Regions from separate parts of the Homo sapiens genome. Here all the other regions are linked to region 1. The links are contacts of gene promoters, found by promoter capture Hi-C in blood cells and fetal thymus (Javierre and others, 2016). All regions are on one chromosome and are shown on one strand. The core of a region is centred on a gene start or on the middle of the fragment in contact, and the rest is flanking DNA. Distances in the headings are between cores, read along the strand shown. Region 1 holds the start of TMEM222 (transmembrane protein 222). Region 2 holds the start of ZDHHC18 (zDHHC palmitoyltransferase 18). Region 3 holds the start of KDF1 (keratinocyte differentiation factor 1). Region 4 holds the start of IFI6 (interferon alpha inducible protein 6). Region 5 has its middle 7.9 kb from the start of LINC02574. Region 6 holds the start of TRNP1 (TMF1 regulated nuclear protein 1). Region 7 overlaps FGR (FGR proto-oncogene, Src family tyrosine kinase).

Region 1 (4,426 bases), core at 790-3,289:
CAGGCATGTGCCACCACCCCGGCTAATTTTGTATTTTTAGTAGAGATGGGGTTTCTCCATGTTGGTCAGGCTTGTCTTGAACTCCTGACCTCAGGTGATTCGCCCGCCTGGGCCTCCCAAAGTGCTGGGATTACAGGCCTGAGCCACCACGCCCGGCCCCTGTTATTTTCACACTAATATTTTATTTTCTTCACAGCACTCATCACTATCAGGTGCTCTTTTATTAGCTTACTTGTTTACTGTCTATCTCCTTCCACTATGACTTAAACTCTCAAAAGTCTAAAGACCATATCTCCTTTATTCATCACTGTATATTCGCATCACCTAGAACTATCTGGGAACACAGGGGTCACTTAGCACATGTGTTAGAAGAACACTGAATGAATTAATGTGCACATTTTCCTAAGATTTTATTTCACTATTTATTTTGAGACGGAGTTTCACTGTGTTGCCCATGCTGAAGTGCAGTGGTGCAATCTCGGCTCACTGCAAACTCCACTTCCCGGGTTGAGGCGATTCTCCTGCCTCAGCTTCCAGAGTAGCTGGGATTACAGGCACGTGCCACTATGCCCAGCTAATTTTTGTATTTTTAGTAGAGACGGGTTTCGCCACGATGGCCAGGTTGGTCTCGAACTACCTACCGATCCACCCTCCACTGCCTCCCAGAGTGCTGGGATTACAGGCATGAGCCACCGCGCCTGTCCCAATATTTTATTTTTAAAGAACAGATTTGGATGCTCTTATATGCATAAGTACTTGAAAACACAAAATAATTCAAGTATTTTAACATAATTCAAAAACTACGATCTTTTTAGAATCAGCAACACCTAAGGCCCCAAATGATCCCTTCTCCACATCACCACTGGCTGTTATTGATAGCGGAACAAGCTATCCCATCAGGTGAGAGTGGATAAGATGTAGTGCAAAGAGCAAGTTAGATCAGAAGACTGAGCTCTTCATGCCTTTGCTTATTGGGGTGCGAACCTGATCAAGACACTTAATGCTACAAGCAGCTCAGCTTCACCATCTGAGAAGATAACCTACCTTAGAAAATGGATGTTTAATTCTGATAAAATGGGTGTTTAAGAGCTTGGCAAACTATCCAGCACGGTGAGGAGGGGTTACGTTTATCAGCTGTCAAGGTTGAAGCAGGAGGGCAAACCACCTCTCCCCATATGAGAGCTCCTCCCAAAAGGCGCCAAGTAGTACCAGAGCACCTGCTTCTCCCCTGACAAAGGCTGATGTTACAGAAAGAACTTTGGTCTGGGAGGCAGACAACCTGGGATCTAAACCCAGTTTGCAACTGAGATGGCACGTGAGACAAAGGGTTGGACTCTCAGATCTCTGGGGGCCCTTCCAATGTTGACATCCCAGGATCTCGTGTGGTCCCAACCAAACTCCCACTCTTGCTCCCAGACCCAGCAGTATGTCTGGAATATGGTAAGCGACCAGTAAGCATTTGCTCAATGAGAGAATAAACCAGTGAATTAATAAAAATGTCTCCTCAGATCCGATAAGGGGCTCCCTCTTCTACACACTCACAGCTCGAGTCTCCCAGCCACTTGCCCTTTCCTGCTGGCCTACAACTCTCTCCCTGGCTACACCAGGTGTATTGAGAGCAGGGAGCGTGTCCCAGCCGTGTGCACAAACTGGCACTACATGGATGGCGGGGTTCTGGTGACTGGGCGAGGCGTGCGGGCCAGACCCGAGGAAAAGGCTTGCTGCGCGTTGGGGCCGGAGGCTAGCCCGGCCCGACTCCGGCTCTCCCTGGGCCCTCCTCGTCCCCAGGCGGATGCCGGAAGAGACTCACGTGAGCACCGGGATGGGCGTCCACACCACGCAGTAGGGGAAGCGACTCCGTTCCACATCCATGGCGACGCCGCCGGAGCCTTGATATTGCTTCATGTCCGTCTCGGCCGCCGTCGGCGCCTCCACTTCCGCCATCCTGGGCGGGGGTGGCGGCGGCGGCAACAAGAGCAGAGAACTCCCTTCCGCTTCCGCCATGCGGCGCGCGCCCCGCTCCGACTGGCCCCGGCTCTGGTGCCGCTCGTCCCCATGGCGTCACTTCCCGGAGATGGGGTCCGCCCCGCTTGGCCTTCCCCCGGGAATCCGAGCCGCGTTCCTCTGGGCCCGGCCAGCCCCGCCCCACTCCCTATGCGCCTGCCAGCCCCGAGTCTTTGCCGCTTATGCCCCGCGGCTGCAGAAGGGATGCTCTCAGGCAGTTCGCAGTCTAGCGCCGGAGACTTATAGAGAACTCTAATTCAGTACGCTGAGGGCTCCTAGGAGGTGTGGTACAGTCGCTATTTATTGAGCACTTCTTAGGTGCCAAGCACTTGACATGAATTGTTTCTAATCCCCATAAACTAATTAGACATCCAAATTAGGTATTCCCTCCTGTTACAGGTGAGAAACTGAGGTTCAAAAGGTGAGAGACCACGATGCAAACCCAAGTCTTTTTTTTTTTTTTTTTTTCTGAGGCGGAATTTTTTCTCTTGTTGCCCAGGCTGGAGGGCAATGGCACAATCTCGGCTCACTGCAACCTCCACCTCCCAGGTTCAGGCGATCCTGCCTCGGCCTCCCGAGTAGCTGGGATAACAGGCGCGTGCCACCACGCCCGGCTAATTTTTGTATTTTTAGTAGAGGTGGCGTTTCACCATGTTAGCCAGGATGGTCTCAAACTCCTGACCCTGTGATCCGCCCGCCTTGGCCTCCCAAAGTGCTGGGATTACAGGCGTGAGCCACCGCGCCTGGCCCAAACCCAAGTCTTATACCTCCCTTGCCCTTTTCATTCTGTGGCCCTCTCACGAGGTAGTGGTAGCATAAAGGAAGACACACACAGTTGTGTGTGCGCACGTGTGTGTGTGTGTGTGTTTTATTGTATATACAGGGAAGACTTGCTGGAAGATAGGATATTATTGAGTTGAGTCTTGATGTTTGCCATGTGGCACAGGAGTGGAAGTATGAGTGCAGCGGTACAAAGAAAGGAAGGCCGTGCAGAGCAGTGTGTGCAAGAGTGTGAATACTTACTGGAGTAAATCATAAGCCTTAGATGTGATCCAATCCCTTCATTGTACAAATGGGAAAACGGGCTCAGGGAAGTTAATTGTTTGAGATCACACACAACCATAATTAGAGAGAAGCCAGGCTCAAATGTTGGAGACTTTTGGCTTTTTAAAGGATGTCAAGACAAAGAAAATGAAGTCTACTGGGGTCTACTGGGGTGGGGAGGGGAAGTTGGGGACAGCCCAAAGTCAGAAGGAAGGCTGCCACTAAAAATCAGCCTTAAAGAAAAAAAAAAAAGAATAAAAAGAGTAATCAGGTAAAGGAAGGTATGGACAAATGCACTCAGGAAGTTAGGAGCTTCCCATTTGGGGAAGGTCCTTCTTCCACTGAATTACCCTCCCTCAATGCTGATCTATGGAGAGCTTGCTGTCCTGTTTGTAGCACCTAATATTTTCATGTTTTTTTGTGGGGGATGTCTGTCTCTGCTATAGAACTCTAAGGTCCTTGACTTCAGTAGCTGGCACAGTTCCTGGTGCAAAGCATATGCCCACTAGATGTTTACTGATTTATTAGGTGATTGAATAAATGGATGTTTTATAAAGACCTCAGAGATTCGCAGGCATGATAATGATTACAGTGGGTTAGAAAATGATTCTAACCCACTCCAAATTCTTTGAGCACGTTTGTACCTCTCCTTGACCCCTGTGCAGTGTGTGATCCTTGAAGGGCAACAACCAGCATCCAGCACAGGGTTTGGAATAGATTAGGTGTGTAGTTTACAGTTGTTGAGAATAAATTACATGACTTCTTGATTCAATCACTGTAGTTATCTAATCTCTTCTGGACCACAGGCTGTGAGGAAGGTCTGTGCCTTAGACATCTCCCTACCATGACTGTCAGCCCATAATTCTAGCACAGGGTTGCTGGGTACCCTTTAAACATTTATTGTAGGTATTGATGAATAAACAACCAAAGTAAGTCTCTCAGGGCCTGCCACAAGTTTGGTAGTACTAATACACGTACCACATTTAATCTGCCAAACTTCAATGGCTTCCCGTTGCACTTCGTATGAAACACAAATATCTTACTATGGCTCACAAAGCCCTGCACCATCTGGACCCATGCCCCTTCCTTATTTACTATACTACAGCCATCCTGGCCTTTTCTTTCAGTTCCTCTCATGCACTCCTTCATATTCCAGGGACTTGGCACACACTGTTCCCCTCTGCCTGAAATACTACTCCTATCTACTTAAAGCGGCTAACTTTCATTCTTCCAGTCTCAGATCAAATATTACTTTCTCAGCCCATCCCTGGTCTCCCAATCTAAATGAGAAAGCCCCCATTAATCTCCTGTTCTTTTTCTTCATAGCTTCTTTGTAGCTATGTACTATTTGCCTCCCCCACTTGACTGGAAACTCTAT
Region 2 (4,426 bases), core at 716-3,215, 500 kb after region 1:
TCTTCACCTTGCTTCAAGGGGAAACCCAAAGTTGCAGATACATGATCTGGCAGCTAGAAAGGGTACCTGGGGGCGGGTGTCTCTATGATAGCCTTACCATGGCCACATGCCCTTGGGAAGTGTTTTTTGATAAAGACAACACAAGTACTAATAGCAGCCAACATAGTGTGCTTGTTACTGGGCTAAAAGCTTGCATGTGTGACCTCATGCCACCCTCAGGACAACCTTACGGGGTGGGTACTATTATAAATCCCATTTTACTGATGAGGAAACTGGGGCACTGAGGGGGTGAAGTGACTGCCCTGAGGTCACGCAATTAGTGGGTGGTGGAGCTGGGATTTGAACCAGGTCTGTTAGAGTTCTTAACTACACTGTATAATTAAGAGGAACAACCACAAAGGATGGGGAGTTGGGAGGGGACAGCAGGGCTTATGAAGCAAGGGTGGGTGGGTGGGCGTGTGAGTGTGTGTGCAAGGAATCACAGTGCAGGTGGCTCAGAGGTGGGTGGAAAACTTCTAATACAAATATATGACCCTCCATCCATAAAATGGAGATTATGTGTGGGCCAATCCTGGGTCACCGGGGGATATGAAGAGGACAAAAACCTAGGGGGGCAAATATGACCTGTCACACGAAAGCACTCCGAAGTCTTTCCTGAAAAACAACAAGGCACCGCAGCTGTTGCTGATGTGGAACAGGCCAGAGGGACGTTCCAGAATGTTGAGCAGGGAAAGAAAGCCAGGTGGTCAGCAGGGGGGCCAGGGGCCTGGGAGCCGGCTGGGTGGAGGCGGGCGGGATCTGAGGGAAGGACAGGAAGCTCTGGAGAACCTAAGGAAGGTTCTGGAGAAGGAAAGGGGGCCCGAGAGGCCCAAAGATTTTGAGAAAAGATGCCTTGGGGCCTAGGGTGTGCGTGGCTGAGGGGAAGCAAAAGCGGGGTTGGTGTCTGAGACTAGAGAAAAGGAGGGGACCCTGGAGGGACCCGGAGAGGGCAGCGAGGATGACTAGGATGTTTATGGTGGGTGTGCACAGCCAAAGGACACACAAGATCTAGAAGTGGTCAGGAAGGGATACAAGGGTCAGAAAGAACTTGGGGGGTTGGCAAGAGATGGTCCAGGGATGGGTGAGCAGGAGGGGCCTGTTCAAGAAGCCCTGGGGCAGGTTCTGAGAGGGCAGCGAGGATGGGGGCCGTGGAGGGGCATGGAGGCTGGTGTTCCTGGCAGTGGCAGGCAGACAGGTGCCAGGGTGGGGTCAGGGAGAATGGAGGGGCTGGGAGGGTGGAGGGCACCAGCGCGGATGGGGTACCCAAATGGACCAAGGAGGATGGGGCATCTGGCGGGGATGGGGGTGCGCAGGGGCCAGGGGGGCAGACAAGAGGCCCGAGGAGGATCCCAAAGGGGCGGGGAGGATGAGGACCAGGGAGGCGAAGGGGAAGGCACGGAGTGCCCAGCAGGGATTGGGAAGGTGGGGTGCGCGGCAGGGGGCTGGGAGGGGGCGCCGAGGCAGCGGAACTCACTCAAAGACGAAGAAGAGGCCGGTGGTGGTGAGGATGAGCAGCAGCGTGAGCGCGAAGACGCCGCCGTGGCCGGCCAGCATGAGGCGGCCGCCGCAGTAGAAGCGATTGCGACCCGGGAACACCTCCCACTTGCGCCGTGGGCGGCGGCCGAGGCTCCCGCTCCCGCTGCCGCTGCCGCTGCCGCTGCTGCTCCAGCGCGGCGGGGCGGGGGCGGCGGGCGGCGCGGGCCCGGGGCCCGGAGTCGGGGACGCGGCGGGGCCGGGACGGCGCGCCCCCGGGGAGGCGGGCAGCGGGGCGGCCCCGGGGCTGATCTGCTGGTACTCGCAGTCCTTCATGCAGCCAGCCGCGGGCCTCGGCTCCGCGCCCCGCGGGCCGGCCGGGCCACTCCGGGACCGGGCCGAGCAGCGGAGGTGGCAGCGGCGGCGCGCGCGGCGCTCGCTCGCTCACTCACTGGGGCGGCCCCGCCATCGCTCCGCCCCCGGCCCGCCGCCACCGCCCGCCGCGGCCTCCCGCCGCAGCGCCCCCTCCGCCTGGGCCCGGGATGGCGCTTGGCCGGAGGCCCAGCTCTGACCCGCGGCGGGGCCCCGCAGGTCCCCGGCCCTCCCAGTCTCCCTTTTCCCTTCTGCACAAAGAGGGGGCCAGCAGACGCGCACTCGAGGGCTCTTTCTGTTCTGCAAGCAAGCCGTTTGTTGGGCGTCCACTGTGTACCAGGCACGGTGCCAAACGCCGAGATTCAGGTGGTGGACTTCGTGATCTACTTCTGGCAGTCTGTAATTCCCCAGGCTTCGCCCATCTCTGAGGGTCGAACTGACAGGCATTTGCAGAGGCAGGCAGGCGCGGGGAGGTGGGGCACACGATTTGCTTTGAAAGCCAGGACCTCTTCTACCTTGAAGTCCAGAGTGCCCACTGGAGGTGTGTGGCACACCCTCTGGCCTCGTTCACCAAGTTCTGTGTCCTGGGCCCAGGCCCAGATTTTCCTAGGTAGCACATAATGTAGAGGGGTCATGCCTGAGGGCCCCAGTGTTTTTTCAGGAATTCTGGGAGTATTCATTTTCTACTGCTGTGTAACAAGTTACCACAAATTTAAGGCTTAAAACAAACATTATCGGCCGGGCGCGGTGTCTCACGCCTGTAATCCCAGCACTTTGGGAGGCCGAGGTGGGTGGATCACAAGGTCGAGAGAGACCATCCTGGCCAATATGGTGAAACCCCGTCTCTACTAAAAATAAAAAATTAGCTGGGCATGGTGGCACGGCATCTATAGTCCCAGCTACTCGGGAGGCTGAGGCAGGAGAATTGCTTGAACCCAGGAGGTGGAGGTTGCAGTGAGCCGAGATTGTGCCATTGCACCCGGCCTGGTGACAGAGCAAGACTCCGTCTCAAAAAAAACAAAAAACAAACGTTATCTAACAGGTTCCAGGTCAGGAGCCAGAGAACAGCTTAGCTGGGTCCTCTGCTTAGTCTCACAAGGCTGCAATCAGGCTGCATTCTCATCTGGAGACTCAGCCAGGGAAGAATCCACTTGCAAGCCCATTTGGGTTATTGGCAGAATTAACTTCCTTGCGACTGTTTAACTGAAGAGGGCCTGGGATTTTTGCTGGGTGACTGTATAACTGAGGAGGGCCTGGGATTTTTGCTGGGTGTCTGCTGGAGGCCTCTCTCAGGATCCAAAAGCCACCTGCAGTTCCTAGAGATTATCACATTTCCTTGCCATGCAGGTTTCTCCTACATAGCCACTTAGTTTCTTGAAACTGACAATGAGGGTCTCTAGCTCCAGACTATGATGATAGAGTTTTATATAACTTACTATATATGTGACAGAGTGGCATCCCATCATCATTGCCATCTCCTATGGTTAAAAGCAAAGCACAGGAGCCATCTGCACTCAAGAAAAGGGAATCACACAAGGCGTAAATACCAGGAGGCAGGAATCATTGGGGGTCAGCTTAGGGTATGTCTGTCACACTGTGGTTACTGTAAAACCTAAGGAAAAGTGCAAGGAAAAAAAGAACTGGAGACTAGGAGAAAGTAAAAAAGGAAGTAAAAATATACAATGGGGAGGAGTAGGAAGCCGACAACAGTGACCTTAAGGATCAATAATTGATATATATGCCAAAGGCTGCTCAGCCGTGCCTTTGGTGCCAAAGGCTCTCAATATGATGAGCCCCATCTTGAGCAAACCACATGGTGAGCTTCCTCCCTTTTTGCTCCTTGGCTGTGGAACAAAGTCACAAAACTAGACATACTGGTTCCAGTACAGATTCCTGTTGTCCCACCTTAACTGGGTCCTCTTGCAACCTGAAACCTTTTCTTTTTTCTCGTCACTTTACAGAAACCAAAGCAATCCTACTGGATTTTCAGTTTACCTCCTCTCTATCTCATAATTTCTCTTTATTTGCATCTGTCCTTTCTTCTTTTTTAGAAGATGTGGGCCTCCTTCTGTCCATGGCCAACCCTCCACTCATATCCTTATTTTATTTTATTTTTTATTTTTTTGAGATGGAGTTTCGCTCTTGTCACCCAGGCTGGAGTGCAATGGCATGACCTCGGCTCACTGCAACCTCTGCCTCCTGGGTTCAAGTGATTCTCCTGCCTCAGCCTCCCAAGTAGCTGGGATTACAGGCATGTGCCATCATGCCCGGCTAATTTTTGTATTTTTAATAGAGACGGGGTTTCACCATGTTGGCCAGGTTGGTCTCGAACTCCTGACCTCAGATGATCCGCCTGCCTCGGCCTCCCAAAGGGTTGAGATTACAGGTGTGAGCCACTGCACCTGGCCTCTTTTTTTTTTTTTTTTAAGTAAGGCTGATGGAACTCCATTTTATTTATTTATTTAAGCCCAATAGAACTCCAAACTCATGTCCTATCTCTCTTCCTGTTCATTAATACCGCAAACACATGCTCAATTCTACA
Region 3 (4,426 bases), core at 650-3,149, 360 kb after region 1:
TATTATGCTTAGATGCAGTAGTTCTAGTTATTTTTGAATCATATATAAAGGATGTCATTCCATATGTAGTCTTCTGAGATTTGCCTTTTTTCAATCCAATATTATATTACCATGATCCAACCATGTTGCTATTTTTCATTCATTTTCTACTGCTCTATAATTAATTCCTTTGCATGAATATCCCACATTTCTCTATCTCCTGTCAGTAGCATTTCCGTGTTTTCGGTTTGGGGCTACCACAAACAATGTTTCTAGTAACATTCTTGTATACATTCTCTCCTGGTGCATTGCACAAGAGCTTACTGTGGCTGTACCATAGGAATGGACTTGCTAGGTTTTAGAGTACACAGATGTTCAACTGCACAAGATGTGACTGTGAAGTGAGGATGTGACTCATTCTCTGAGCTCCAAATAAGAATACAATGTGCACTTTCCTCAGGAGGGAATGTGGACAAGATGTGGTGGGAGGCGCTGGGATGGAGGGTCTCTGGTGGAAATTGAACACCTATGCCTAATGCATCCCAGTGATATCTTCCTGTTGCATCCATGATCTCTTTTAATCCTCCCAGTTAAAGAGAGGTACTACTATCTCCAGAGATTAGGTTTAGAGAAGGAAAGTGCCTTGCCAAAAGTCAGTTTGTGCCAACTGCCTGAGCAAACAATGTCCCCTCTCTAAGCTTCAGTTTCCTCTTACTGTAAAATGGATATGATAATACCTGACCCACTTCACAGATTAACGGCTTCGGCATGCATGGCTCCTGGAGATGCTCCCTAAAAGTCACTTGTTTGTTTGTTTGTTTTGTTTATTTGAGACAGAGTCTCGCTCTGTCGCCCAGGCTGGAGTGCAATGGCGCGATCTCGGCTCACTGCAACCTCTGCCTGCTGGGTTCAAGCCATTCTCCTGCCTCAGCCTCCCGAGTAGCTGGGATTACAGGCACTTGCTACCATGCTAGGCTAATTTTTTGTATTTTTAGTAGAGACTGGGTTTCACTATGTTGGCCAGGCTGGTCTCAAACTCCCACCTCGCGATCCTCCCGCCTCGGCCTCCCAAAGTGCTGGGATTACAGGCATGAGCCACTGCGCCCGGCCAAGTCACTTGTTTATTAATGCTATTGTTAAGTTATTGAGTTGTTATTAATATTAAGGGGAACAGTAACCCAGAATAGTCTGAGCCTTGCCTTATTGACATTCAATGGTGTTGCCTCTTGCAGAGACCTTTTTTGGATGTAGTGACCATGGCCCATTTTGGCCACCACTTCTGATCCTGGATGTATCTTTCAGAGCTGCATATCCGGTCCCCCTCCTCTACCCTACTCGGGGCCTCAGAGCTGAGGTTCCTGTCTTTACCTGCAGATTTCTCTGAACAAAAGAAAAGGTAAACTGATCAGCGGCCCAGGCTCCCAGTTCTGCCTCAGGGCAAAGGGAGAAATTGGGGCCCAGGGCCTCATTCAGTGGAAAATATTTGTTGAACACCTAGTATGTGCCAGGACCTGTGCTGAGCACCAGGAACACAGGGGAACAAGACCAAACCCTGCAAGGTAGGAGGCTAAAGGAGGAGACAGAAGACAACAAAACGACAGTGTGCTGAGTACAGGGACTGTTCTAACCAACAGAAAAACAGACAGGATCAGGGAAAGCTTCCCAGAAGAGAGCTTCCCTTTGAGTTGGAGCTTTACGGCCGGGCAGAAGTTCCACAGGTGCTCAGAGACTGACAGGACCACCAGCCTGTTGAACAGAAGAGGAGACTGAGCCCCAGCGCCTCTCGACCCCTCCCCGCCACACCTCACCTACCCGGACTAGGCTGAACGGGCCGAGCACTCGAGCGGGGACGCGCAGCTCTGCAGAGCCCCGGGGCGGGGCCTCGGTCCAGGTGCGCGGTAGCGCTTCGCGGAGGCAGGAAGTGTGTCCCTAGCGGCGGCCCGTGCAGCGCTCCCGCGAGACGCTCACCTGCGCCCCAGGTGAGCGGCGAGGGGGCGGGGGAGGGGCTGAGCCGGAGGCGGCTCACCTGGCGGGACAGGTAAGCCCGGCGCGGGCCCAGGGGGGCGCAAGCCAGGGCGGCGCCGGTGTCGGGAGCCCCCCGAAGCTGAGCCCGGACAGGAGAGGGTCCCGGGCCCGGTTCCTCGGGGGCCACCCTCCTACTTCCGGGGTGCGCGGGCCGGGCTGGGGAGCGGCCTGAGCGGGCGCCCGGGCTGGGCGCGCAGAATGGGGTGAGGGGCCGCGTTCGCCCTTAGGGCTGCACTGGCTGGGTGCGGGGGCCGCACTCACCGGGGGGCAGCGTCGGGATGGGACAAACGCTGGTGCTCACCCCGAGGAACAGCGTCGGGACGGGAGGGAGGCTGGGTCCGCCCGCGGGGTAGGGCCCTTGCAGCTGGAGAGGGTAGTGCTCGCCCCGAGGGCAGAGTTGGTGTAGGGGCTGTGGTAGCCCGGGGGACAGTGCCAGGATCTGGTTCTTCCTTGTCCCCAGGACTAGCTGCCCGCGGATATGGGACTCTCGGGCTGCACCTTTGGGGCAGGAGGCCGAGGGTGCACTGAGCCGACGGCTGTTTCTCGAGCAGGACTGGGGTGGTCCTCCCCGGCCGGGTGTCCGAGGCTTGGCACTGGGCTGGGGGCAGAGGCTGGTGCGGCCGGGCCTGTCCTGGGGACCCTCGGAGGAGGGGACGGTACATAGACCCTTGAGTGTGTGTGTGTGTTCGCGGGACTAAGGGGGAAGAGGAAAGCATCAACGAGAAATCCAGGGAGGGCGGGCCGGGACCCTCTGACCCCCGGGAACATCCTTGCGGTGCCTTAGATCGCCTAGTGACCTAGCCCCTCCCATGGGCAAGGCCACTGCGGGAAGCCCCCTGCACTCAATATTTCATTTAAATCTCACGGGATTGGCGGGGCATGAAGATACTAGTCTCTCCTTATTTAAAGATGAGGAAAGTGAGGTTAAGAATCTTGCCTCAAGCCACAATAGGGACAGGGAGTCTCCCCTCACTAAACCAAGTGACCAGGTTCCTAGGATTGGGCGGGGTGGTGGCGGGGCGGTGGCAGCAGGGTCGGGGAGATACAGCCTGGAAGAAACTGCCTGAGTTTGACTTCAGGAGGGTTCAATGGCTGGAGGGAAGTGGGGAACTGAGGCAGGCATTGTCCTTATCCCAGGTCTTCTCTTCTCATCCCACCACCGCTGGAGATGTGTGGCACACACAAAGTACGCAGGCTTCAGAGCCTGGCGGGCCACAGTGCAAATCTTACTCCAGCCCTCTCTTGCTAGGTGTCTCTGGGCCAGTCACTTCACCTTTCTGAGCTTCAGATTCCTGATCTGTGAAATGGAGATATACTACTTATTTTCAGAGCAATTGTGAGAGTCAAATAAGGTGAAAGTCCTCTGGCCCATTCACTGCTGTTTTCTCAGCATTTAGCACAACGCTGGGCACCTCGTTGTATTAATTTAATCAATAATAGAGAGTCCTAAAGCTTTGGAGGTTGGGGAGAAGACAATAGCCAGTCCATCCTCAGGAGCCCCACGTACTTCCGAGCTCAGCATGGTTAACTGTAGATCTGTCCACTCTCCTGAAGGCTTGAGCCTGGAAGACAGGGCTCCCAACATGGGCTCTCTCTGGGCACACGCTGGTCCATGGAGCTGGCAGCTTTGACTGCCTCTTTTCTCCCAAGTAATAGATGGGATGGGGTAGTGGATAAGAGTCTGGGGCCAGGCCAATTGTGTACAGATAGATGTATGGCTTTGGACAACTTATTTAACCTGTCTGTGCTTTAGTATAATAATACAGGTAATAATATTACAAAGAGGGTTGTGAAAATTAATTGGTTATTATGTCTGAAGTACTTAGAACAGTGTAAGCCATCAATAATCAACTCTCACTGGATTGTAAACTCCTGAGGTTGAGGGATTTTGTCTGTTTTATCACTTTATCCATAGAATTTAGAACAGCTAGGCCGGGCGCGGTGGCTCACGCCTGTAATCCCAGTACTTTGAGAGGCCGAGGTGGGTGGATCACGAGGTCAGGAGATCAGACCATCCTGACTAACATGGTGAAACCCCATCTCTACTAAAAATACAAAAAATTAGCCAGGCGTGGCACGCGCCTGTAGTCCCAGCCACTCAGGAGGCTGAGGCAGGAGAATCGCTTGCACCCGGGAGGCAGAGGTTGCAGTGAGCCAAGACCACGCCACTGCACTCCACTCCAGACTGGGCAACAGAGTGAGACTCCATCTCAAAAAAAAAAAAAAAAAAAAGAATTTAGAACAGCTGGCTGGGCGCGGTGGCTTATGCCTGTAATGTCAGCACTTTGGGAGGCTGAGGCAGGTGGATACTTGAGGTCAGGAGTTCGAGACCAGCCTGGCCAACATGGTGAAACCCCATCTCTATTAAAAATACAAAAAAATTAGCTGGGTGTGGTGGCATGCACCTGTAATTCCAGCTACT
Region 4 (4,426 bases), core at 714-3,213, 350 kb before region 1:
ACCGACAAAACAACAAAGAGGCCAGGCACAGCAGCTCACACCTGTAATCTCAGCACTTTGGGAGGTAGAGGTGGGTGGATCACCTGAGGTCAGGAGTTCAAGACCAGCCTGGCCAACATGGCAAAACCCCATCTCTACTAAAAATACAAAAAACATTAGCCGGGCATGGTGGCGCGCACCTGTAATCCCAGCTACTTGGGAGGCTGAGGCAGGAGAATCGCTTGAACCCAGGAGGCAGAGGTTGCAGTAAACCAAGATCACACCACTGCACTCCAGCCTGGGGAACAGTGCAAGACTGTCTCAAAAACAAAAACAAAAACAACAAAAAACAAAGAACAAAACAAAACAAAAAATATATGATGGAAATGGTATATTCAAGGCTGAGCAAAGGGGTCTAAAAGGCTTGAGTAAATTAAATAAACAGGGAGCTCAGAGTCCTGTGGCGCCCAACTCTGTTTCTCTGGGTTTTCTCTTTGACCCATATATATGGCCTCATGGAGTGTTCCCAGCAACCAACAGATAATGGAGGAAAGGAGTCAAACTCAATTCACAGATAAGTCAGTATAATATTTTGGTATCAGCTGGAAACGGACCACTCTATTACAGCCCCATTTGGGGGTGGCACTGAATAATAGTGAATCCTCCCAGGGGGCAGAACTAGGAGCAGTATACCGTGTTGTTCCCTCTGTATGCAGAGAGAGAGAGAGAGAGATGGACTGAAGTACAGACATACACCAATTCCTAATAAGAGGCAAATGGCTTGGCTGGTTGGTCAAAGGCATGGATGGAACAAGATTGGAAGATTGGGAATAAGCAGGTGTGGGTTAGGGGCATAAGAATGAACTCTGAATGGGCATAAAGCACCTGGATCTCTATGTCTCATGTTAATGCTGACCAGAGATCATCTGCTGCAGAGGAGGCTCTACAGCCCAATGGCCAGGATGTCCCATCCTGTGGATGTCAGCCAGCCTCTAAACTTAGCCTCACTATTGCCTTGCAATAGACCTATGAGTGTCCAAGGTGGTAAGGATGGGGGTTAGAAATGAGTCCAACAACTTGGGCTCCCTCTCACCAAAACTGATCTGGCAATTGCCAAAATATAGCCAATCTGCCAGCAGCAGGTAGCAATATGGCAAAATTTCTCAATGAGAATAGCCAGCCATCTGGTGGCAGGTCAATTATTTCAGACCCCTTCCACTTGGGAGAAGGCAATGATTCATCCTTACTGGAATTTCTATGTTCTCCAAATAGAGGTTGCATTTCTGACCCATAGCACTTCAAGCATCACCATCCAAAGGCTTTAAAGAATGCTCAGTTCATTACCTAGGGCCAGGGGACCCATCTTGAAACTCAAGATCTATCATGATGGCCACATGAACACAGGCTTCACTGGTCTTACCATATGCCCATGACCCAGAAGCAGCCAGCCTGAGAGAACAATGGAACAAAGTGACTTAATTTCCAAAGTTCTGGGGGTTTATAAACAGCATATGGTATGTCACATGACTACTGTGGGATTGGAAAAAGATCATGTAAATAGAGCACTTTGCACAGACCCTGGCATGCAGCAAGTGCTCAATAAATGATAGGTGTTGTTTACTAATTGGACTGAATGGTGAAAGGCCTGTGTGCCCCAGGGGGAGCTGGTGATCAGGCTTCACTAAGCCCAGTATGGCCGTGGCTCTCATCATAGTGTGACATGCTTTGAATACCCTTAGCGGCTCCAAAAGTCCTCAGCTTGAAGTGCATTTTTCTGCCAGCAGGCAGCACACAAATGTTCCCGCTGGGCGGAGCTGGGAGAGAGGGGAAAATGAAACTCTGCAGAGTGCAGGAGCTGGGAGAGAGGGGAAAATGAAACTGCAGAGTGCAGAAATAGAAACTCCGACAGGGATTGGCTGCCTAGGGTGAGACGTGGGAGGATCCACAAGTGATGATAAAAAGCCAGCCTTCAGCCGGAGAACCGTTTACTCGCTGCTGTGCCCATCTATCAGCAGGCTCCGGGCTGAAGATTGCTTCTCTTCTCTCCTCCAAGGTAAACTCAGGAGCTATGAAGTGTGGGCATCAAGCTGCCACCCTCTGCCAGGCTGCCTGTCTGCCTGTAAATCTCATGTTCTGAGAGCCAGGAGGCCCCTTCTCCTGGGAGGCAGCACTCCTGGGTCCCTTTTAGTGCTCTGGGCTGGGACTTGTCTAAGAGGATGGGTTGGAGATTTTTAGGGAGATGGGATGCAAAACCCCAAGTGGCATGAGACCCAGCTTACAGGTGCAATATCAGCGATCTGTGGCCTTAACACTGTCACCTCTTGGAGCCTTAATTACTTCCTCTGTAAAAGGAAAGTTAAGTTGCCTTTGCTGCTCAAAGGACTGGATGATTTTAGAATCCCCTTTATTATAGGATCCAATGTGACAGTGAGTTCATCTTTAAGGATAGATGAAGCCATCTGGAGTGGTTGTTAAAAATGTGGGCTTGGTGGCCGGGCGTGGTGGTTCACGCCTGTAATCCCAGCACTTTGGGAGGCCGAGACCCACGGATCACGAGGTCAGGAGATCGAGACCATCCTGGCTAACACAGTGAAACCCTGTCTCTACTAAAAATACAAAAAAAATTAGCCGGGCTTGGTGGTGGGCGCCTGTAGTCTCAGCTACTCGGGAGGCTGAGGCAGGCAGGAGAATGGCATGAACCTGGGAGGTGGAGCTTGCAGTGAGATGAGATTGCGCCACTGCACTCCAGCCTGGGCGACAGAGAAAGACTCCATCTCAAAAAAAAAAAAAAAAAAATGTGGGCTTGGGTATTAGCCAATTGTGGGTTTAAACCCTGACTTTGCCATGACCTGGCTAGGCAGCCTTGGGAATATTACTTAACCTCTCTGAGCTTCAGTTTCCTTATCTATAACATGTGGTTGATAACAATGGTACCTACTTCGTGGTGTTGTTATAGGTACAAGTGGACTGCGTGCCATAAAGTGCTAAGTACTCAATACATGAGAGGAGTTTCTTGTTTTTCTTTTTAACTTAAGAAAATAGCATTGATCTGACAAAGATCATATTAGAGGTGAGTCTGAGGGCATATGCATTTTCCAGTTTTGTGGTATAAAGGAAAGAGCATAGGTTCATGAATTCTGACTGTCTTGAATGTGTACCCATGTTGCACAATTTGCTGTGTGACCTTTATCCCTTGTGATATTGTAAAATATATTTTTTCATCCCCCAGTTCCTGGCATACAACTCCTAAAATCCTTGGAATCTTCAAAGTGATAAATATCTTTTGAGTGATAACTGTCTAATAAGTTGACTGATGGCTGGCATTTCCTCTGGGGAGGGGAGAGGGGCTGAAGGTTAAGCTGATTACCAATGGGCAGTGATTTAATCAGTCATGCCTATGTAATGAAGCCTCCATAAAAACACAAAAGGACAGGGTTTGACAAGCTTCCAGATAGCCGAATACAAGGAGGTCTCCAGTGGGTGGTGCTTCTGGAGAGGAATGGAAACTCCATGCCCTTTCTCCCATACCTTGCCCTATGCATCTCTTCATCCGGAGCATTTGTAATATCCATAAGGAACCAGTAAATGTAGCTGGGTATGGTGGCTGATGCCTGTAATCTCAGCACTTTGGGAGGCTGAGGCAGGCAGATTGCGTGAGTTCAGGAGTTCAAGATCAGCCTGGGCAACATGGTGAAACCCCATCTCAAAAAAAAAAAAAAAAATTAGTTGGGCGTGGTGGTGCATACCTGTAGTCCCAGCTATGCTGGAGGCTGAGGTGGGAGGATCACTTGAGCCTGGGAGGCGAAGGTCTCAGTGAGCTGAGATGGGGCCACTGCACTCCAGCCTGAGCAATAGAGTGAGACCCTGTCTCAAAACAACAACAAGATCAATTTTTTTTTTTTAAAGAAAGAAACCAGTATATGTAAGTAAAGTGTTTCCCTGAGTTCTGTGAGCTGCTCTAGCAAATTAGTAAAACTGCAGGAGGGAATTGTGGGAACCCCAGTTTATAGTCAGTCAGAAACACAGGTAAAACAACCTAGGGCTTTCGATTGGCAGTCTGGGGGACTGAACCCTCAACATGTGGGATCGGCCACTATCTACCCATAGTGGTGTCAGAATTGAATTTGGGGACCCTCAGCTGGTGTTCACCAGAGGACTGATTGTTTGCTTGCTGGTGGGGAGAAACCCCCACACTTCTGCTGTCAGAAGCCTCTCGTACGGTGAGGGAAACTGAGTTTCTTTTTCCACACACCCTTCTGTGCTTTCTTTCTGAAAAAAAAATTAAGTTGATGTGAGGCCAACGTTTGGTGCCAGTAGATATTCAATGCATTGTAAGAATGAGTTTGTCTTAAAAATTTTTTTAAAGCAAATTCTATGCGTCAGGCACTGTTCAAAGTGCCGGGGATACAGCGTGGAACAGTTATTAAATTAACAAGTACCCTCTGAA
Region 5 (4,426 bases), core at 893-3,392, 330 kb before region 1:
TACATACCTCCAGAGGCAGGGAGCTCACTACTCTTGAAGCAGCCCACTCCGTTTGCAATTAGAAGACCTCTAATTCCTGCCCACCCCCAACCATTGCCGAAGAGATTCCCTGGAGCTGAGGCCCAGAGAGAGTGATTACCTTGCCTGAGGTAGTTGGTGCAGAGCCAAGACCTACTCAACTGTCCTGAGGGCATGTGCAAGCTCACCTAATCCTGAAAGAGCCCCTAGGTGTCAGCACTGGCCAGATCCCCCACAGCCTGTACCCATTTGTAGGCCTGGGACTTGAGCCGCCATCGCAGCCCATTTCCCCTTTGCTCAGGAGCAGCCAACCAGCATCTGCTGAAGACAGGGATAGCAGGTCCCCAGTCTGGGAGCGGGGAAGCTAAGAAGGAAGCACTTTCAGGTAGCACTGGACTTCTGTTGCCCCTTTCAACCCCCATGCCAGCCCTATAAAGCAGGACTTGTCGTTCCCATTTTACAGATGCGCAAACTGAGGTGCTAGTTACCTAAGATAACACAGCAAGATAGTGGCAAAGCCAGGCCTAACTTCAAAGCCTGACCTCTTTCCTCTGCCCCTCAGCTTGGTGCCTCTTGTCTATCTGCCCTACTTCCAGGCCAATTCTTTCCTAAGCCTCATGAGGTCCTGAAGTGTCCTGTGGCTTTTGTTCCCCAAGCTGGGTCCCGCCCACAGTGAGGACTCACCAGCTGTGCTTTGGCAGCAGCTAAGAGCTGGCTGAATAACAGGAGTCATCCCTTCCTTCTGTATTTAGTCACTCCCTAAAACTGCAGGGGACCCCGACCAAATTAGGTAGTGGCCAAGGAGGTGTTTTGGAGAGGCCAAGCCCCTGAAACTAGGCCAGGCCACCTATTTGCTGTATCACTTAGGTCTGTTTCTTTCATGGAGCCTCAACTTACCATCTATAAAGGGGGTGAATTATCCTTTCTCAGGGCCTCTGTGTGCAAGGATTCAGGAAAGCTGCTCTCCTCTCTGCCAGGCCACCTCACCTTTGCACCTTCACCTTGAGGAACAGATCCCCACCCCACCCCCCCCGGCCAGGGTCCTTTTGTTGGCAGAACTCCAGCATAAACTGCACATAACCTGATTGTTAATGGGGGCCACAGATCCGGGGTTGGGGGCCCAGCTCCCCAGCTTCAGCCCTTCCTGGCCTTGGTTCCTGCTGGGGAACAGGCTCTGTCATCATGTCTGCTTCCTCTTCTTTCTGTGGCCTTTGCAGAGCCATTTCCCAGGGGGCTCTGCCTCTCCTGCCTCCTGTCTCCTCCTCTGTCTTCCCACCCTTCTTCCTCACACAGTGTTTATCCGCGCCTACTCTGGGCCTGGCACTTGGCTCATAGAGCTGAATAAGCTCAGGGCCTGTCCTTGCAAAGCTCACAGTTTGATGGGGGAAAATGGACAAGGAAACCAAGTTACAATTTATTCACCCATCCCAAATCCTATTGCCCTCCCTGCCGCTACCCTCACCCCTGCAGTCTGCACTCCACGCAGTAGCCTGAGTGATCCTGTTAAAACGGAGGTCAGAACATGTCACTCTTCTGCTCAACCCCCTCGCCCCCCCCATGGCTCCTGGTGTCAGAGGAAAAGCCAATGTCCTTGCTGTGACCTACAAGGCCCTGCGTGATCTACCTCACTGCCTCCCACTCTCTGCTCTGATCACTCCCTTCCAGCTGCACTGGCCGCCTTGCTGTTTTTCAGCATGCCAGGCGTGCTCCTGCCTCAGGCCTCTGCATTTGCCCTTGGCCCTGCCAGGCATGTCTTCCCCCAGGTAGCCACGTGGTCTCCCATCCTTCACTCAGGTATCTCCCCCTCATCCAGGGGACTTCCCTGGCTGCCTATCTAAATATTACCCCTTAGTTGCCTTCTGCTCTTTTACCTGCTTTATTTTTTTTCTTAGCCACTACCAAATAACATGTAATTATTGATTTTCTTTTTCCTGCAAAGGCATAAATCCCATGAGGTCTCCTGAGGTTCCCCACCCCCAAAAACAAACAAAAAAAGGACAGAAGAGAGAGAAAGAAAAAGAATGCCAGAAAAATTCTGGAAAAAAAAAAAGGCAACACTCACTGACTACTGTTAGATAACAATATTTAAAGCCTCAAAAATTAAAACAACTTGGGGCTTGATGGGGTGGCTCACGCCTGTAATCCCAGCACTTTCGGAGGCCAAGGCGAGTGGATCACTTGCGGTCAGGAGTTCAAGACCAGACTGGCCAACATGGTGAAACCCCATCTCTACTAAAAATACAAAAATTAAGAGCCGGGCATGGTGGCTCACGCCTGTAATCCCAGCACTTTGGGAGGCCGAGGCAGGCGGATCACCTGAGGTCAGGAGTTCGAGACCAGCCTGGCCAATGTGGTGAAACCCTGTCTCTACTAAAAATACAAAAATTACCTGGGTGTGGTGGTGCATGCCTATAGTCCCAGCTACTTGGTAGACGGAGGCAGAGAACTGCTTGAACCCGGGAGTTGGAGGTTGCAGTGACCCAAGATCATGCCACTGCACTCCAGCCTGGGCAACAGAGTGAGACTCCATCTTAAAAAAAAAAAAAATACAAAAATTAGCCAAATTAGCCTGGCCTGGTGGCAGGCGCCTATAGTCCCAGCTACTCAGGAGGTTGAGGCAGGAGAATCACTTGAACCCAGGAGGCAGAGGTTGCAGTGAGCCGAGATCATGCCACTGCACTCCAGCGTCCTAGACGATGAAAAGAGATTCCATCTCAAAAAAATAAAATAAGAATAAATAAATAATTAAGTCTGGGCATGCTGGCTCATGCCTGTAATCCCTGCACTTTGGGAGGCCGAGGCGAGTGGATCACTTGAGGTCAGGAGTTCGAGACAAGCCTGGCCAACATGGTGAAACCCCTTCTCTACTAAAAATATAAAAATTAGCCAGACGTGATGGTGGGTGCCTATAATCCTAGCCACTTGGGAGGCTGAGGCAGGAGGATTGCTTGAACCCAGGAGGCAGAGGTTGCAGTGAGCCGAGATCAAACCACTGCACTCCAGCCTGGGCGACAGAGCGAGACTCGGTCTCAAAACAAAACAAAACAAAAAATAATAATTAAAACCACTTGGTTTGGTTCAGGAAGAGACAAACAGACCAATGGACTAGAATAGAAAGTCCAGAAATAGACCTAATTGCACGCGAGAATTTAGTATTTGATAAAGGTGTCCTCTCAAAGTGGAAAATGGACTCTTTAATAAATGGTGTTGGGACACCTAGGTAGCCAACTAGGAAAAAAAAAATTAGATCCGTGCCTCACACTGAGCACCAGGATGAGCTCCCAAGGGATAAAATATTTAAATGTTTGAAAAATCAAAATAAAACCGTAAAGGCACTAGAGGAAAACATGGGAGAATGTATAATCTCATAGTGGAGAAAGTTTAACCATGACTCAAAAATCAAAAAGCTGTAAAAAGAAAAGATTGATAAAGTCAACTATATAAAAATCAAAAACTTCTGCATGGAAAAACACTATAAATCAACGCATAAGACAAATGACAATCTGGGGGAAATATTTACAACTCTAATCACAGACAAGGGAACATCTCGCTTATTTAGAAAGAATTCCAGGAAATTGATTAATCTTATAGAAATAGAGGCCTAGGCCGGGCGCGGTGGCTCACGCCTGTAATCCCAGCAATTTGGGAGGCCAAGGTGGGCAGATCACCTGAGGTCGGGAGTTCAAGACCAGCCTGACCAACATGGAGAAACCCCGTCTCTACTAAAAATACAAAAAAATTAGCTGGGCATGGTGGCGCCTGCCTGTAATCCGAGTTACTCAGGAGGCTGAGGCAGGAGAATCGCTTGAACCTGGGAGGCGGAGGTTGCAGTGAGCCGAGATCACGCCATTGCACTCCAGCCTGGGCAACAAGAGCGAAACTCCATCTCAAAAAAAAAGAAAAAAGAAAAAAAGAAAGAAATAGAGGCCTAGCATATGAACTGACGGTTCCCAGAAAAGTAAATATAAGTGATTCTTAAACACATAAAAAGAAGCTCAAACTCAAAAGAAATGCAAACCAGAAAAACTAGACTAGAATATTGCTACAGTTTGAACATTACGCCGCGAAAAGCAGGTGCTGGGAACTTAACCCCATACAACAGTGTTGGGAGGTTGGGCCTAAGGAGAGGTGTTTAGGTCATGAGGGTTTCACCCTCATGAATGGATTGGTGGTGCTGTTATAGCAGGAGTGGGATTATTATTCTGGGAACAGATTCATTATAAAAGGGCAAGTTCAGTTCCCTTTTCTTCTCTGTCACCCTCTCTTTGCTCTTCCACCATGGGATGACACAGCAAGAGGGCCCAAGCCAGATGTGGGCCCCATGATCCTGGAATTCCCAGCCTCCAAAACTGTGAGCCAATACACTTCTGTTTATGATTAATTATCCATTCTGTGGGATTTTATTATA
Region 6 (4,426 bases), core at 949-3,448, 330 kb after region 1:
GGCAGGTCCCAGATTAGAACCTTGAACTGGTCTCCCAGCCCCAAGCACCAGCCTGAAGAAAGGCTCCTGTTCCCCCCTCATTTCCCTTTGCTGAGATATAAATTCATTGGTGGCCGTCAGTGTCCTCAATGCACAGGTCCCCCAAGATCCCTGTACTCAGTCCTGTCCCCAGAGCTGGGGGCCACCAAGAAAGTGTTCTGAAAGTCATGTGGGGAAAAGGGGTGGGTCAGCCTTCTGTCCGAGGCTAGAGCTGGCCTCCAACAAACTGCTCAGCCCCCAAGGGATCCCCTGGGATGGTGACAGCCAGAAAAGCCTGCCTGGAAAAGAGCCAGGAGACATAAGCCCTTAAAAGTAGAGACCCTCCTCTGATTTGGCTCTGCTTTCTGAGCCCCTATCAATATTTGCTAATTAAGAAGAAAATGGAGGCAGACGGGTGAGCTTTTTTTTTTTTTTTTTTTTTTCTTGAGACACAGTCTTGCTCTGTTGCCCAGGCTGGAGTGCGGTGCAACCTCCACCTCCCGAGTTCAAGCAATTCTTTCTCAGCCTCCCGAGTAGCTGGGATTACAGGCACCTGCCACCACGCCCAGCTAATTTTTGTTATTTTTAGTAGAGAAGGGGTTTCACTATGTTGGCCAGCCTGGTCTTGAACTCCTGACATCAAGTGATTGGCCCTCGTGGGCCTCCCAAAGTGCTGGGATTACAGGCATGAGCCACCGCACCCAGCCTGAATAAAGCCAGACGGGTGAGCTTCTAGAGGGGGCCCTGGAGGGTCAGGCAGGTGTGGGAGGTGCCTTTTGTTAGTTGGCTATGTGGTAATGGACATAGCACTAACTAGGAGCTGGGGTTCAAGTCTACATGTGTGTGCCCTGGCCAGGAAGCTTGATGAGGAGCAGTGGGACATCTGGAAGTGGAGGGAGGGGGCAGAGCTGCCTGTGACACCAGGACCAATCTCCATTTACTACCCTCTACTTCACACACACACACACACTAGCCAGTGTCGTCTCTAATTCTCTACTCACCCACCCCACCCCCAAATCGGGACAAGCTGATTACAAATAAATCCTGGAGAAAGCCAAAACTGTGATGGCACCGAGCACTTTACACCATTAGCTAAAAGCTTCTCCGGACCAAGTGCCCCCTCCCATGCAACCCAGAAAACAAATGGTCCTGGCTGCAGCCCAGCACCAAGGCCTGAGCTCAGCTCTTTCCAAGATGTCCTGTCCTCTCTAAGCCTCTAGACCCCAAATGACCCAAGTGGCTTTGGAAGGTGTTCCCTGTTTGGAAAGACCAGAGGATGGCATTGCCCCCTTCATTACTTCCCTGGGGTTCCCTAACTTTGTCAGAGGCTCTGAGACTCCCTCCTGAACCTCCCTTCCCCAGCTAAGAAAGGGTTCAGGAAAGCCTTGCTGTTAGCCGAGAAACCAGCCAAAAAGTTTGGTATCCAGGGAGAAGGGCTGATGAGGGAGGATCCCATAAGGGCCCCAAGCCTCAGCCTATCAGAGCAGTGCACCTGACCCTCCCAGATTCCTGTGGAAGGAAGCATCCTCCCCACTTCACCCCATTCCCAAGCCCTGACTCAAGGAGGGACTGAGGAAAGAGGCCCAGAGAGGGGGCAGAGTTGTTCTAAGTCACAGAGCAGACAGGATCCAGAGGACAACTCTCCCTAGCCCCTGCCCAGGGTACTGTGGGAGGTGCACACACAGGCCAGGGACCTTGATTCTTCCCTCACTGGCATGTGACCTTGAGAAATCCCCTCTCCACCCTGCAAAAGTAGGACTTTAAATTAGCTCATGGCTCTATCAGCAAAAGCAGTGCCTGTTTCCAGGTGTGAGTTAAAATAATACATTATCAGCCAGGTGCAGTGGCTCACACCTGTAATCCCAACACTTTGGGAGGCCGAAGCGGACAGATCACCGGAGGTCGGGAGTTCAAGAACAGCCTGACCAACATGGAGAAACCCGGTCTCTACCAAAAATACAAAATGAGATGGGCATAGTGGCACATGCCTGTAATCCCAGCTACTTGGGAGGCTGAGGCAGGAGAATCGCTTGAATCCGGGAGGTGGAGGTTGCAGTGAGCCAAGATCGCACCATTGCACTTCAGCCTGGGCAACAAGAGCGAAACACTGTCTCAAAACAAACAACAACAACAAAAAAATTATCTTTCCATGATTTAGTGAGGAAGAAGAAGGACCTCTGCCCTGGGTTAACGTCACCACAGCCCCTCTGGGAGGTTAAGAGATCCACTTCGCAGACTGATAAGTGAGAGTGAAATTAACTCAGCTGGTGAGCAGCAATGTGGTAGCCAGGTCATTCACAGTGGGGACAGAGGAATGGGAGACTGAAGGGCATCTGGACAGGAAGAGAAGCAGATCTCACCTCAGATCTGGCTCTTTAAGGCCCCCCTTTCTGGAAGCTGATACCACACCTGCCCCCTTGGGGCCTGTTAAAGGGTATCACCTGGTTCCAACCTGGCCGAGCCATCTTAGTAACAGGTTGGGAGTTAAGCCTCTAGGTTCTGCTATGTAAGGATCCCTGGGTGAGCAGGTGCCAGACATCCTGTCCTGGTTATGTGAGTCAGGCTGTAATTTTTGCGAACCTGCATGACGGCATAAGAAAAGCTGTCTCCTAGAAGAAGAAGGGCCTAAGTATGAAGAGAACAAATCCTAAACCTCTCTGGGATTCCGTCTCCCCAAAGGTGAAACAGGCCTAGAGGGGGAATTCAGTGGTACAGCCCTGTGCCAGCCTCCACCCCATCCTGGGGCCTCATTATTCTGTCCTCCCGAAGGCACGGAGCTGGGCGGCGCCAGGAAGCAGCATCCTCAAGGGCAAGACTGCTCACAGCTCCGAGGGGCCCGGGAAAGGCCACGCAAGTGGGGGTGAGGATGGGGGGTGCTGCATCCGTGCGGCAGGTTCCAAGTGGTAAAAGTTTGCCGCCAACCCGTTCCTGGGATCTGAGCCCCCTCAAGAGTCCAACTCTTATAATGGAGACTTGATGCTACCACCTCTCACTCTCCAGATGGTCGGGAGAGGCGGCAACAGAAAGTGGCAGCTTTACTAGGGACCCAGCAGACGCCAGAAGCTCCAGGGAAGGGAGTTCCCGGGCCCTGGACCAGCCCCCCACACGCCATGACCGACCCTCGAACGCACCAGCCGCTAAGACCGCACCTCAGCCTCCTCTACTGGGCCCCTGGCCCCCAACTGCCTCTTCCTGCGGATCCGTAGTCCTTCCAGCCGGCGTCCGCGATCAGTCGGTCGGTCGGCACCTCGGCGAAGCTTGTCGGGGTGGCCAGGGGTCCGGGCGTGGAGGTCAGCGCTGCGGGGAGGCGGGGCCGCGGGGCGGGCTGCGGCGGAAGGGCGAGTCGGGCTCGGGGCCGTGGCCGCGCCGCAGTCGCCCGGCACCCCAGGGCACGCAGCCGCCCAGGCCCAGCGCCGAGGCCAGCAGCGCGGGGGGTCGGCCGCGGCGGCCGCGGCGCGGGCCCTTCTTGAGGCGCGACCCGTGAGCCGCCAGGTAGAGCTCGGCCTGCGCCACGCCGCCGCTCAGGCGGCTCAGGCTCTCCGCGCGGTGCGCCAGGCGCAGCTCGGCCGCCAAGAAAACGCGGTGCAGCTGCAGCACGCGGCTCTCCAGCTCCGACACCAGGCGCCGGCGGCCCTCCACCTCCAGCAGCCGCCGCCGTGCTTCGGCCAGCTCCAGCGCGCGGCCCCCCGCCCCCGCAGCCGCGCCAGAGCCCCCTCCGGGGCCGGCGAGCCCCGCGATCCCGCTAGCGCCCTGGCGCCAGCGCTGCAGCTCCTGGTCCTCGGCCGCGCCTGCTGAAGCCCCAGCTGCGTCCGGCAGCGGCGGGGACTGACCCGGGGTCGGGGTAGGAGTCAAGGTCGGAGTTGGGGGCGGGGGCTGAGAGGACGGCATGGGATCCCAGGGCGGCGGCGGCGACCTCTGCTCTGCCGTCCCCTCCTGGGCCCCCGGGCCGCAGGCGCTGATGCGGCAGCCCGGCATCCCCCGCCCCCCACCGGCGGTCTGCGGCTGTAGGTGCGCAGGGAGGATGACCACAGCACACCCGAACAGCTAGACACGGCCACAGCCCCCACCCCAGAGGCGCGCCCGCCGTCCGCGCATCTTATAGAACACGGGGCGGAGCGACGGGCGGCACAGCCAATCAGAGACAGGCACGCCCTGAATCCGCCCCGCCCCCCCCCCCCCCCCCCGCGCTCTGCACATTCAGGGCATTCCCCAAACCCTTCAGGTCCTGCCCTTCGCCGGATTCTGCTCCGCTAGGGCATCCGGTCCCCTTTCGCCTCTCCCCAAATTTTGGGTGCAAAGGGAGCCTCATCTTCCCTGGTTTGGCCCCTCAGAGTCATAAGCTCTGGTAGCTGGTGTTTAGAAATTCACGGAATCCGGTCTCCATCCGGGGGAGGGTCTTGCCTAAGGC
Region 7 (4,426 bases), core at 1,312-3,811, 300 kb before region 1:
ATTACAGGCATGAGCCACCACACCTGGTCTCTGTCAGGCTTTTTAAGCCACATTGAGAAGTCTAGATTTTATCCAGAAGGAAATCAGTAGCCATTTTCTGTGGGGAAGTGACCTAGTCAGCTGTCCTCTGAATTCCCAATCCCCAGCCCAACCCAGCTGGGGAGCCCAAGGAAGAAGCTAAGAGCCCTAAGTGCCCCCGAGCTTATTCCTTCTGCAGGGACAAGCCCTCCCAGGGAAGCTGCAGTGGCTGGGGCAGAGCGGACAAAAGCCCCAGTGGTGGGGGGTGTCCAAGATGAGGGTTTGGCAGGATTCATCTCTGCAGACCTGTGTGGCTCCACCTGGCCTCAGGGTGCCTTGGGGGCTGGAGGTGCTGCTGACCATGCCCTGTTCTGTGCCTACAGTGAAGGTGACTGGTGGGAGGCTCGGTCTCTCAGCTCCGGAAAAACTGGCTGCATTCCCAGCAACTACGTGGCCCCTGTTGACTCAATCCAAGCTGAAGAGTAAGTAGGGATTGGGGCAAGACCAGCCCTATGGACAGGACCCTGGAGTCCAGACTCCAAGGCCACCTCTTGGACAAGTCATTGCTCCAGTCCGAGCCTGTCTCCTTATCTAATAATTTTGTAAGGTCATTGTGAGAACAAAAGAAGATTGTACTGATAATAATAATAGTAGATAATAGAGCATGTACTATGTTCTGGGCACTATTCAAAGTACTGTCTGTGTATTAACGGGGTTAGAAATTACTACTATCCTATTTCACAAATGAGGAAGTTGAGGCACAGAGAAAGTAAATATCCTGTGCAAGTTCACATGGCTAGTGAGTGGTGGAGCTGATGTATGAACCCAGATAGTTGGGCTGCATTTGCTAAGCATTACACATATTGCCTCCCAGTAAAAACAACAGTGTATGAGCTTTAAAAAATTGTAAAGTGCTGAAAAAGTGCAAGGGAGCATTACTAGGAATTAATTCTATTAAGGAGGCAAGAATTTTTCTTTTTCTTTTTCTTTTTGTTTTTCTTTTCTTTTCTTTCTTTCTTTCTTTTTTTTTTTTTTTTTTTTTTTTTTTTGAGACAGGGTCCTACTCTGTTGCCTAGGCTAGAGTGTAGTGTAGTGGCACAATCTCGGCTCACCGCAGCTTTGACCTCCCTGGCTCAGATGATTCTTTCACCATGCCTGGCTAATATTTTTTTTTTTAAGTAGAGATGGTGTTTCGCCATATTGCCCAGGCTGGTCTTGAACTCCTGAGCTCAAGCCATCCGCCCATCTTGGCCTCCCAAAGTTCAGGGATTACAGCCATGAGCCACCGAGACCTGGCCCAAGAGGCAGGAATTTATCATTCATTGAATACCTTTATATACTTGAGCAAGTATACTACAGCAAGTATTTATCTCCTTGGTTCACTTAATTCTCACAATAACACCGTTATATTATTAGTTTTTTAAGAGACAGGGGCGTGCTCTGATGCCCAGGCTGGGGTACAGTGACATGATTTTAGCTTACTACAGCCTCAAACTCCTGAGCTCAAGTGATCCTCCCACCTCAGCCTCCTGAGTAGCTGATACTACCGGTGTGTGCCACCATGCCTGGCTAATTTTTGTATATTTTTTTATAGAAGCAGAATCTTGCTATGTTGCTCAGGCTGGTCTCAAACTTCTGAGCTCAAGCAGTCCTCTCACCTTGGCTTCCCAAAGTGCTGGGATTTCAGGCATGAGTCACCATGCCTGGCCTTGATATTATTATTTTAGACAGAGTCTTGCTCTGTTGCCCAGGTTGGAGGGCAGTGGCGTAATCTTGGCTCACTGCAACCTCCACCTCCTGAGTTCAAGCAATTCTCCTGCCTCAGCCTTCCAAGTACCTGGGACTACAGGTGCACGCCACCACACCTGGCTAATTTTTATAATTTTAGTAGAGACGGGGTTTCACGATGTTGGCCAGGCTGGTCTCAAACTCCTGACCTCAAGTGATCTTCCTGCCTCAGACTCCCAAAGTGCTGAGATTACAGGCATGAGCCACCGTGTCCGGCCCCTTGATATTATTATTGTTCCCATTTTACAGATGAGGAAACTGAGGCTCAAAAAGCTTTTAAAAATCTATCCTCACAAATGTCATACATATATGAGAAAAGAAGGGATTGAAGAGACTTTGCAGAGTGAGAATCCAGGACTCTGTGACTGATTTGGGTTATGGGGAGTGGGAGGAATCAAGGGTGGCTCAAAGTCTCCTTAAGGAGCTGGGTGGATGATGGCACCATTTGCTAAGGCGGGAAACACAGGAGCAGGTATAAGTTCATGAGTTCTAGGGGGTACTTGTTGGATTGTGGTTTGTGGAGAGGAACATCCAGGTGGACGAAGCTGCCAGCAATTCGATTAGGTTGTGCTTTGTATGGCAGGCAACCAGCCCATGCTAATCCATGCCCCTGAATCAGCCCAGAGGAAGGGACACCTTTTCTTAATTGCCACTAAAACTCCTCAGTTTGTTTGCTGTGGCCCTTGCAGAGGGCACAACGGGCTAGGGCAGAAATTTGGGACTCATGAGAGTAAAGATGATCATTAAGGCTATATAGGAGGGGGCTGGGGGCGGTGACACATGCATGTAATCCCAGCACTTTGGGAGGCCGAGGCGGGCGGATCACATGAGGTCAGGAGTTCAAGACCAGCCTGGCCAATGTGGTGAAACCTTATCTCTACTAAAAATACAAAAATTAGCCGGGTGTAGTGGCAGGCACCTGTAGTTCCAGCTACTCAGAAGGCTGAGGCAAGAGAATCACTTGAACCTGGGAGGTGGAGGTTGCAGTGAGCTGAGATCGAGCCACTGCACTCCAGCCTGGGTGACAGAGCAAGACTCCGTCTCAAAAAAAATTAATTAATTAAAAATTTTTAAAAAAGCTATATAGACGGTTAAGGAAGAGAGTGGAGAGTGCAAAAGGTTGGCCCTAGGACCCCACTTTGGGGAAAGCTGCCCTCGAAGGAGAAGGAGCCATTGGAGAAGAGAGGAAATCCAGACCAGGCCAAGTCAGAACAACCGAGAGAGCGGAGAAGCTTCAGGAAACAAGAGAGGGCGTGTCAGAGGCTACCGCTGGATTTGGCAGTGGGGGTGACCTTGGTGAGAGATTTCTCTGTGTGAGGGTGGGAGGCGGAGGCCAGACAGCAGAGCCTGGGAGGGAGTGGGAGGTGAGGAAGTGGAGACCCAAGTGTGAAGCACTTTTTCAAGTGAAGGGAAGGCGAGAAGATACAGCAGAATGTTGACGGCAAGATGGAACTTAGAATAGTTTCCTTTGGGGAAGGGAGAAATGTGGGCATGTTTGGAGGTTGTTGGAATAGAGAGGCTGCATGCAGGTGGAGGCTGCTGGCAGGAAGTGGGTATCACTGAGCAGGAGCGGGTAGGCGAGGTTCAGAGGTCAAGTGCGGTGAGGCCCAAGTCTGGGGAGGTGGTAGGAGGCGTGAAGAAGAGGACGGACAATTATGCAGAGGACAGGAGGTTTGTGGGGAGCTTCATGCTTGTGTCCACATCTTGGAGCCAGTGTCACCAAGCACTGAGAGGTGCTCAGTGCAGTGTTGTGGTTACGGGTAGTGTGGTTAGGAGCACAGGCCCTAAAGCAGACAGCCTGGGTTCCTGTTCTAGCAACTGCTGCCCTGACTGTCTAATGGGGTTTAACAATAGTAGCTATCTCACAACATTGTTAGGAGAATTAAGTGAATACATACGTGTATTAAGGCAGACCCTAACACGAAATATGTGTGTTATTATTATAGTGATTATTAAGGAGGTAGCTAATGTCATGCGTGTGGGAGCGGGGAGGGCTTTGAAAAAACTTGACAATGTGTCCTGTCTATACAGTCCCTCAACACTTCCTCCGTCCCCCTCCTGCCTGCCCTCCTGGACACACCACTTGCCAATGCCTTCCCCTGTTTCCTGAACTGTGCCTAGTACCCAGGGGCGGACTGACCTTCCCAGGGTCCACTGAGACTTCCACCACCCTTGGTTTGAAAACACGAGGCTCCTTTAATTCAACCCAAGATGGCCACAGGCCAGTTTCATGATCATCTGAGTCTTCTATGGCACCTGTGGTCACTTCAGCTCCCCCATTGTACCTGCACAGTTGGTTTAGGGCTACGGTTCAATCCCAGAAAGAATCCCCAAGGGAGAGGAGTGATTGAGGCCTGAGGTTGAAGTTTAGACTTAGGACAACATCCAAGTCTAAGAGAGTGCAGGAAGAGCAGTAGCCGGGGCGGGAGCAGCCAGAGAGAAGAGAAGCAGGAGACTGTGCTGCTCTGGAGGCCAAAGGAGGAAAGAGTTTGGAGGTGGAGGTGGGAGAAGGATCTGAGTGATCTGATTACTGGAGTGGTGAAAAAAGAACTAGGGAGAGCGGCAGAGGATTTTAGGTGGAGCTCATTAGCCAGCCTGTGGACAGGTCACTTTCCCTCTC

Evidence for each region. Contacts are between HindIII fragments. The CHiCAGO score rates a contact against its expected background, and 5 or more counts as called.
Region 2: a contact is called between the fragment with the promoter of ZDHHC18 here and the fragment with the promoter of TMEM222 in region 1, in 10 of 17 cell types (total B cells, neutrophils, activated CD4 T cells and 7 more). The highest score is 11.6, in total B cells.
Region 3: the fragment with the promoter of KDF1 here is called in contact with the fragment with the promoter of TMEM222 in region 1 in 7 of 17 cell types (M1 macrophages, M2 macrophages, neutrophils and 4 more); the score reaches 9.5 in M1 macrophages.
Region 4: a contact is called between the fragment with the promoter of IFI6 here and the fragment with the promoter of TMEM222 in region 1, in 13 of 17 cell types (naive CD8 T cells, monocytes, total B cells and 10 more). The highest score is 9.9, in naive CD8 T cells.
Region 5: a contact is called between a fragment that was not itself captured here and the fragment with the promoter of TMEM222 in region 1, in 5 of 17 cell types (endothelial precursors, naive CD8 T cells, erythroblasts and 2 more). The highest score is 6.0, in endothelial precursors.
Region 6: a fragment that was not itself captured here is called in contact with the fragment with the promoter of TMEM222 in region 1 in 1 of 17 cell types (erythroblasts); the score reaches 5.1 in erythroblasts.
Region 7: a contact is called between a fragment that was not itself captured here and the fragment with the promoter of TMEM222 in region 1, in 6 of 17 cell types (endothelial precursors, megakaryocytes, naive B cells and 3 more). The highest score is 10.6, in endothelial precursors.

Annotation. Positions count from the first base shown.
Region 1 is chr1:27,319,776-27,324,201 of GRCh38, reverse strand. TMEM222 (transmembrane protein 222) reads right to left here and starts at 2,039. Exons shown (of 6, transcript NM_032125.3): 1 at 1,811-2,039. The coding sequence starts at 2,004. It also overlaps the pseudogene ACTG1P20. RefSeq lists enhancers at 984-1,530, 1,682-2,031, 1,531-2,078, 2,079-2,625. The HindIII fragment of the contact is 7,674 bases long and covers 1-4,426 here.
Region 2 is chr1:26,824,227-26,828,652 of GRCh38, reverse strand. It overlaps ZDHHC18 (zDHHC palmitoyltransferase 18), which reads right to left and starts at 1,965. Exons shown (of 8, transcript NM_032283.3): 1 at 1,514-1,965. The coding sequence starts at 1,848. RefSeq lists silencers at 1,698-1,907, 1,918-2,067, 2,031-2,183. The HindIII fragment of the contact is 7,154 bases long and covers 192-4,426 here.
Region 3 is chr1:26,957,941-26,962,366 of GRCh38, reverse strand. It overlaps KDF1 (keratinocyte differentiation factor 1), which reads left to right and starts at 1,899. Exons shown (of 4, transcript NM_152365.3): 1 at 1,899-2,017. RefSeq lists a silencer at 615-909 and an enhancer at 1,779-2,461. The HindIII fragment of the contact is 1,819 bases long and covers 1,640-3,458 here.
Region 4 is chr1:27,669,729-27,674,154 of GRCh38, reverse strand. IFI6 (interferon alpha inducible protein 6) reads left to right here and starts at 1,963. Exons shown (of 5, transcript NM_002038.4): 1 at 1,963-2,032. RefSeq lists an enhancer at 1,592-1,931. The HindIII fragment of the contact is 12,379 bases long and covers 1-3,425 here.
Region 5 is chr1:27,652,577-27,657,002 of GRCh38, reverse strand. No RefSeq gene overlaps it. Among named protein-coding and RNA genes, the nearest start is that of LINC02574, 7.9 kb to the left of the region's middle. RefSeq lists a silencer at 2,090-2,492. The HindIII fragment of the contact is 5,418 bases long and covers 1-4,426 here.
Region 6 is chr1:26,993,354-26,997,779 of GRCh38, reverse strand. TRNP1 (TMF1 regulated nuclear protein 1) reads right to left here and starts at 4,088. Exons shown (of 2, transcript NM_001013642.3): 1 at 3,168-4,088. The coding sequence starts at 3,993. The coding sequence ends at 3,310. RefSeq lists enhancers at 1-102, 1-218, 3,591-4,091, 4,316-4,426, 4,229-4,426 and silencers at 3,756-3,815, 3,846-4,175. The HindIII fragment of the contact is 2,158 bases long and covers 1,120-3,277 here.
Region 7 is chr1:27,617,633-27,622,058 of GRCh38, reverse strand. FGR (FGR proto-oncogene, Src family tyrosine kinase) reads left to right here. Exons shown (of 13, transcript NM_005248.3): 5 at 402-500. Among named protein-coding and RNA genes, the nearest start is that of FGR, 15 kb to the left of the region's middle. RefSeq lists a silencer at 3,501-3,660. The HindIII fragment of the contact is 959 bases long and covers 2,082-3,040 here.